Linked DNA regions of Homo sapiens: region 2 is linked to region 1. Evidence: promoter capture Hi-C in human tissues and cell types (Jung and others, 2019). All regions are on one chromosome and are shown on one strand. Each heading gives the region's core, a stretch centred on a gene start or on the middle of the fragment in contact. The rest is flanking DNA. Distances are from core to core; before and after follow the strand shown.

Region 1 (3,385 bases), core at 37-2,536:
CTCCCAGCCACCCTTGGGAAGCACTGGCTGGTAGAAGAGGTTGGGGGACACCCCCCCTTCTGTTCCCCCACTGTTTGGCAAACACAGTGTCGGCTCCAAGGAGACAGACGGCCTGGGAATCATCAGATCCTGTGGCTGTACCCTCCCTCCTCCCAGCCCAGTGCCCAGAGCCACCCATGGGGTCTGCCCTCTCACCCCCAATAACACAGGGCTAGGAACCCTGTCTCAGGGGCAGGTAGGAGGGGGACACAGCCCAGGGTGGGCGTTACGGCCATTCCTCTGCCCACCCACCCACAGACAGCCCAGCACATAGGCTGGGCTCAGCACGAAGGTCCTGGGTCTGGGTTTGAATCCCGTCCTCACCACTTCCTGGAACAGGAGGGTCTGGGTTTGAATCCCATCCTCACCACTTCTGGAACAGGACGCCTCCTCCAGGGAGCCTCCCTGGGTTGGCCCAAGCCCCCCAGGCTGGGTTTCCACTCCTAGGGTGCCCCCAGCTTGGCTGGTGCTCCATCTTGGTCTGCGTTTTGGCCCAAGTCCCTTCCGGAGAGTGATGGGCTCCCCTCCACACTGAGGACACCCCCTGCTCCTTGCCGAGACCCCGAGACCCCGCTTCTGCCTGGGTAACGCGAAGGCAGCATTTGTTCAGTGCATGACCTCATCTCACAGAGGCTCACAACCACTCTCTGTGTTGCTCCATTGAGCCAAACGTGTATTAAGCGCCAAATGTATGCCAGGCACTGTTCTGTGGGCGGAAGAGGGTGCCCTGTGGGAACCTGCAGGGAAGGTGTTCCAGGCAGAGGGCACAGCCCGTGCAGAGGCCCTAAGGCAGGACCGTGCCAGGTGCGCTGGAGGCATAGCGAGGAGGCCTGTGTGGCTGGGATGAAGCAAGCGAAGGAGGAAGCTGGGGGAGATGAGAGCAGAGAAGAAGCTGGATGTTACGGGACGTGGTGCGGAGTACGAGAGAGAAACCTGAAGCAAAAAGATGGTAACTGGCCAAGGCATCCTGGTGCAGCAGAGATTTGAACTACACCCACCTCGTGGATGGAACTGGAGGCTCAGGGGCCCGGGAGGGGAGCCCATCTGGCCTGTGAGCCACTCAGCCTGATGCAAGCTGTGGGCAGGAAACAGGGGAAAGGTGCTGGGCCTGGGCCCATGCTGGGCTGGGCAGGTAGCCATGTGACCGTCCAGGCCACCTCCCCCGGGCCCATTGGCCGCCTGCCGCTGCTGGCTGGGCCTGCGCCTGCCCCGGACCCTATAAGGCCAGGGAGCTGAGGGTAGAGCCAGCTGCCAGCCGGGCCGGTCCGTCCTCCAGGGGACCCCGCGCAGTCCAGGTGAGCGGGGCCGCGTCTGCTTCGGTGACACCAGGGTGAGGCCAGGCCTGCAGGTGGGTGTCGGGCTGCTCAGGCTTTCAGTGGGGAGTGGGTGTGGGATGGGAGGCTAGGGAACCCCCATTCACGCACCTTCTCTGCCCCCTTCCAGCTTCTCACGTTCTCACTATGTCTGCTCCAGACGAAGGGAGACGGGATCCCCCCAAACCGAAGGGCAAGGTAAAGAGGGGAAATGGGGCAGATTCTTGCTGGGGCCTGGAGATGCCCCAGAGCCGGGGAAGGTGACCTCCACAGTCCTGGGGTCTCGAATCTGGAGAGGTGCTTCCCTGGTGGGCTGGTGGGGGCGGTCTGGGAGCCATGATGCCAATCCCTTCCTTTCTGACCCAAGCTGGAGGCGGGGGACCCACGCAGACCTCGACACCTTCCCCAGCAAGTGACCTTGGGCCGGCCTCAGCTCCGCCCCTCTCTGAGCCTCAGTTTCCCCATCTGTGCAGTGGGGATCCTGGAAGGAAAAGGTCTTTGGAGATCGGGTAGACGATCTTTTCCTCTGTGCATGGGAGGCAGGCTGAGTCTGCCCATTGCCCAGGTGTGGAAATTGAGGCTGAGTGGCTGAAACACTTTCCTGAGGTCACCCAGGAGCAAGGGGCCGGGGCGGCATTGGGCTGATCAATCGATGCTTCCTCTGACCCGTTCCTGCCGAGGCTTGGCCTGCTCATCCTGCACACCCCCCGCCCCCATGCAGACCCTGGGCAGCTTCTTTGGGTCCCTGCCTGGCTTCAGCTCTGCCCGGAACCTGGTGGCCAACGCACATAGCTCGGCGAGAGCCCGGCCGGCCGCTGACCCCACAGGAGCGCCTGCTGCCGAGGCTGCCCAACCACAGGCTCAGGGTGAGTGGCTGGCCCAGCTGGGGGCGTGGGGGGACTCTACACATGGACCTGGGAGAAGGAGCTCCCCGGGCAGGGACTTCCAGCCATTTGGGGAGTCCTCCATATTTGTCTGTGTGCTCTCATCAGACACTAGGACATCTTGTGGTGGATGGGGAAACTGAGGCATAAATATGGGGGGTGAGTGGCCGAAGGTGGCTTTCAACCCAGCCTGTCTCCCTGCAATGCCCCCCCACTCAGTCCCTCGGCCGTTCCCCCACCCTGCACTCCGTTTCTGATGCACCATGGCCCAGGCTGGGTGCTCTGCCCATCTGAGCTCATCAGAGTGAGATCCAGACTCCCAGGGAGGAGCAACAGCTCCCCTGGGGTCACACAGCCCAGGGGCTCCCCAGCCTCCTGTGGCTCAGCTTGGGCGATCAGGGACGGTGACAGGGAACCCAGGGTTGGGGCAGCCGCCTGAGCTGGGCCTCCCTCTGGGCCCAGAGCCCCAGGCAGCTGACTTCTGCTCCACATGCCTTGGCCTGGCAATAGGCAGCAGGCAGCTGCGGTGGGGGCGGGGCGGGCTGGGCAAGGGGCTGTTCCCCCATGCCAGGCTATATGAACCCCGGGACTCAGGGTGGGTGTCCACCCAGCAGAGGAAGTTCCACAGAGCCCTACTTCAGGGAACAGCGGCCCTGGGCTTGGGGGGAGCCCCCAGCGGGGTTGGGGGGTGACCAGGTCTGGCTGGTAGCCGTGGATGTCACCTCCTGCTGTCCCTGGCGGGGTAGCTGAAACATTCCTGACCTTTTAGGCTGTGCCTGGCTATTGTGCAATGGGCAGCCGGGTAGATGGTTCTAACTGCATCCCTCACTCTCCCTGACCGGCCCCTGTCCCCACAGTGGCTGCCCACCCAGAGCAGACGGCCCCATGGACGGAGAAGGAGCTGCAACCTTCGGAAAAGGTGAGAGGATGTGCAGGGCAGGGTCTGATGTGGCAGGAGCCCTGGGGGTGCCCCCTCCTGCGACATTTCAGTTCCTGCTATCTGGGGGGCTGCTCCCTCCTGGGACATTTCAGTTCCTGCTATCTGGGGGGCTGCTGTGGGCCTGAGGGAAGGCAGACAGCCTGGGGATCCCAGGCGGAGCTTCCCCTCTGAGCCTCTATTTCCACATCTGTGAAATGGGTGCAGTGCTA
Region 2 (3,236 bases), core at 537-3,036, 100 kb after region 1:
GTTATTTCAATTGCTTCGAGAAAAAGAGAAACCTTTCCAGGTGATCAGTTTTTCCACCAACAGAACCAAAATGTCATAATAGGGTCACAAACTCCAGTAAGTGTGCATACATGTGTGTATCTGGGATTAGATAACAAGAGAGACTACGGAGGCAGATAAAGAAATGAGTGAAGGACACCAAGCACAAGAAAAACAAGGCAAGCTCAGAAATAAAGGCAACAGACAAGGCTGGGCGCGGTGGCTAACGCCTGTAATTCCAGCACTTTGGGAGGCCGAGGCAGACAGATCACCTGAGGTCAGGAGTTCGAGACCAGCCTGGCCAACGTGGCAAAACCCCATCTCTACTAAAAATACAAAAATTAGCCGAGCGTGGTGGCAGGTGCCTGTAATCCCACCTACTCAGGAGGCTGAGGCAGAAGAATCGCTTGAACCCAGGAGAAGGAGGTTGCAGTGAGCCGAGATTGCGCCACCATACTCCTGCCTGGGCAACAGGGTGAGACTCTGTCTTAAAAAAAAAAAAAAAAAAAAAGCGACAGCTGGCCTGGGCGACAGGGAGAGGATGGATTTGTAGCAAAGGAGAGAGGACCTGCCTGTCCAAAGGAGATGGAGTTCTTACAGGAATATAGATCCCTATTTGCTGGTCCTTCCAATTTCTCCAAGAGAAGCTGATATTAGGAATTTCATATGAATTTTTTTAGGTGTTTAAAAATGGACACAGACGGGCACAGTGGCTCATGCCTGTAATCCCAGCACTTTGGGAGGTCAAGGCGGGAGGATCACTTGAGCCCAGGAGTTCAAGACCAGCCTGGGCAATAAAGCAAGACCCTGTCTCTAAAAAAAGCTTTTAGTTAGTCGGGTGTTGTGGTGCACATCTGTAGTCCTAGCTACCCAGGAGTCTGGGGTGGGAGGAGCCCGGGAGGTTGAGGCTGCACTGAGCTGTCCAACCTGGGTGACAGAGTGAGACTGTCTAAAAAAAAAATAAAAAGATACTAAATTAATCAAATAAAACATGTCTCCAGGCTGGTTTCCTGTGCACCACTAATTTACATTCTGTCTAGCTCAACTCTGCTTTTTATTTTAATGTTATTTTTGAGATGGAGTCTTACTCCTGTCACAGAGGCTGGAGTGCAGCGAGTGCCACGATCTCGGCTCACTGCAACCTCTACCTCCCAAGTTCAAGCGATTCTCCTGCCTCAGCTTCTTGAGTAGCTGGGATTATAGGCGTGTGCCACCACACCTGGCTAATTTTTGTATTTTTAGTGGAGATAGGGGTTTCATCATGTTGGCCAGGCTGGTCTCGAACTCCTGACCTCAGGTGATCCACCCGCCTCGCCTCCCAAAGTGCTAGGAATTCAGGCGTGAGCCACCGCGCCCAGCCAACTCTGCTTTTTAGAATGTGGAGTGAAAGCTTAAGACAAAAGGGAAACTTGCTGGGGTTTTCTAGGACTTCTACCTTCTAGGGCACAATATTTTCTATCACCTACCTTCAAACTGAGCATGAGCTACTAGGAATTACCAATAGGATCCATGGTGTGACTCACCATCCACCTAAATGGTCCCAGGAAGGAAGACGAACAGGGAGTCTGGACTTTGGCCTAAGCTATCTCCCACCGGGGCAGGGAATCCTGAAAACCAAACTAGTAGAAGTGAAGAGCAATGGGAAGAGACGCTTAAGAGTGGGAAGAAATAGTTCTCCGGGTTCATTGCAGACTTGCAGTGTAAGACTGAAGTTGACTGAAAAACCAAAGGCCCATTTTCCTGGCAATGGTCTGAGGGGTCAACAAAATTATGTAAGTGATTTCTTTTTTTTTTTGAGACGGAGTCTCGCTCTGTCGCCCAGGCTGGAGTGCAGTGGCGCCATCTCGGATCACTGCAAGCTCCGCCTCCCGGGTTCAAGCGATTCTCCTGCCTCAGTCTGCCCAGTAGCTGGGACTATAGGTGCCCACCACCATGCCTGGGTAATTTTTTTGTATTTTTAGTAGAGATGGGGTTTCACCATGTTAGCCAGGATGGTCTCGATCTCCTGACCTCGTGATCCGCCCGCCTCGGCCTCCCAAAGTGCTGGGATTAAAGGCGTGAGCCACCGCGCCCGGCCAACAGTGATTTCTTTATCTGGGAAAGCTGAACCCCTGACTAGGACCTCTCACAGAATAAAAGCTTCAGATGAATGAGCTCAAGACAGCCTTTCCACCTGGGTCCCACTGAGTCCTTTCTGGACTAAACCTTTCTTTAGGGAAAGGCCGAGCCGTTGTGAGAAGGCTGCCCGTGTTGGCAGGAGCTCTTTCACCACCGAGATCAGGCCAGGGTGTTCAGTCTTTGCTGAGAATGTGGCAACAGAAATGCCAGCCCGAGGCAGCCTCACCAAATGCTGCAGAAAAAGCATCTGTCTCTCCAGCATCTACTCTGCCTGCCAAGGCTGTGTGCCTCTCCCCCACGCTGAGGGATTTAACTGCAGAATATGGGAGCCGCAGCTCTCCGGGGCTGCCCTTTGTGTTCAGAGATTATAATACGGAATGTGGTCTTGGGGTGGCGGGGAATTCAGTTCCTTAGTCTTGCCCATGCCTGAAGCTCAGCTGCAGAATCTCCTGCCTCTTACAATGCCCCCCCTCTGCTGTGAGTCCAGAGATAACAGACTTGATGTGACTGGCAAGAGCCCGCTCAGTAATATCCAACAACCAAAACAGAGCAATTACTGCTTAATTTAAAACTGGTATCTTTTTTGCTTTGCCAAACCCTCAGATGGACCTTGAAGTCTGACAGAACTTTATCTTCTTGAAATTTGACCCAAGTGTTTATAGATCTCACTCTCAAAATTCTATGCAACACTCCCACATTCTACCCAGCTGGAGCCCGGTCAGACAGCACCCTCAACTGCCAAAAACGTGATCCAGGATCCCAGAAGGAAGCCAAAACACAAAAACCGACAATCCCAAGGAGTCGCGACAGAGCTCACTATGTGTGGGCATGAAAATTCCTGCACCCTTTCTCAGATAATCCTCTCAGAGCCTATGGACTCTGATTTTATACTAAAGGGTATCTAATTTCTAAGCCCAGACCAGATAAGCCGCTAAAACCTGACAGCAGGGGAGCGGAGGCAGGGGGGAAAAGAGAAAACCTCCAATTGGCCCAAGCATGAGAGAGTGCAAGCTGGGAAAATAAGAACGCACGCATTGCCTTGAGCTACCAAGACCTCATTCTCCTTAACAGCCCAAGGCCACTTGTAGAAGGAAGCTCAA

What was found. The method cuts DNA at HindIII sites, captures the fragments that hold promoters and counts their contacts. A contact is called where the count stands out against the background at its distance.
Region 2: a fragment that was not itself captured here is called in contact with the fragment with the promoter of PLIN4 in region 1 in 2 of the 25 tissues and cell types used here (dorsolateral prefrontal cortex and liver).

Annotation. Positions count from the first base shown.
Region 1 is chr19:4,516,387-4,519,771 of GRCh38, reverse strand. PLIN4 (perilipin 4) reads left to right here and starts at 1,286. Exons shown (of 8, transcript NM_001367868.2): 1 at 1,286-1,387; 2 at 1,483-1,550; 3 at 2,074-2,218; 4 at 3,094-3,155. The coding sequence starts at 1,500. The HindIII fragment of the contact is 33,356 bases long and covers 1-3,385 here.
Region 2 is chr19:4,414,751-4,417,986 of GRCh38, reverse strand. The region is part of intron 3 of CHAF1A (chromatin assembly factor 1 subunit A); the gene reads right to left. Among named protein-coding and RNA genes, the nearest start is that of CHAF1A, 14 kb to the right of the region's middle. The HindIII fragment of the contact is 3,051 bases long and covers 261-3,236 here.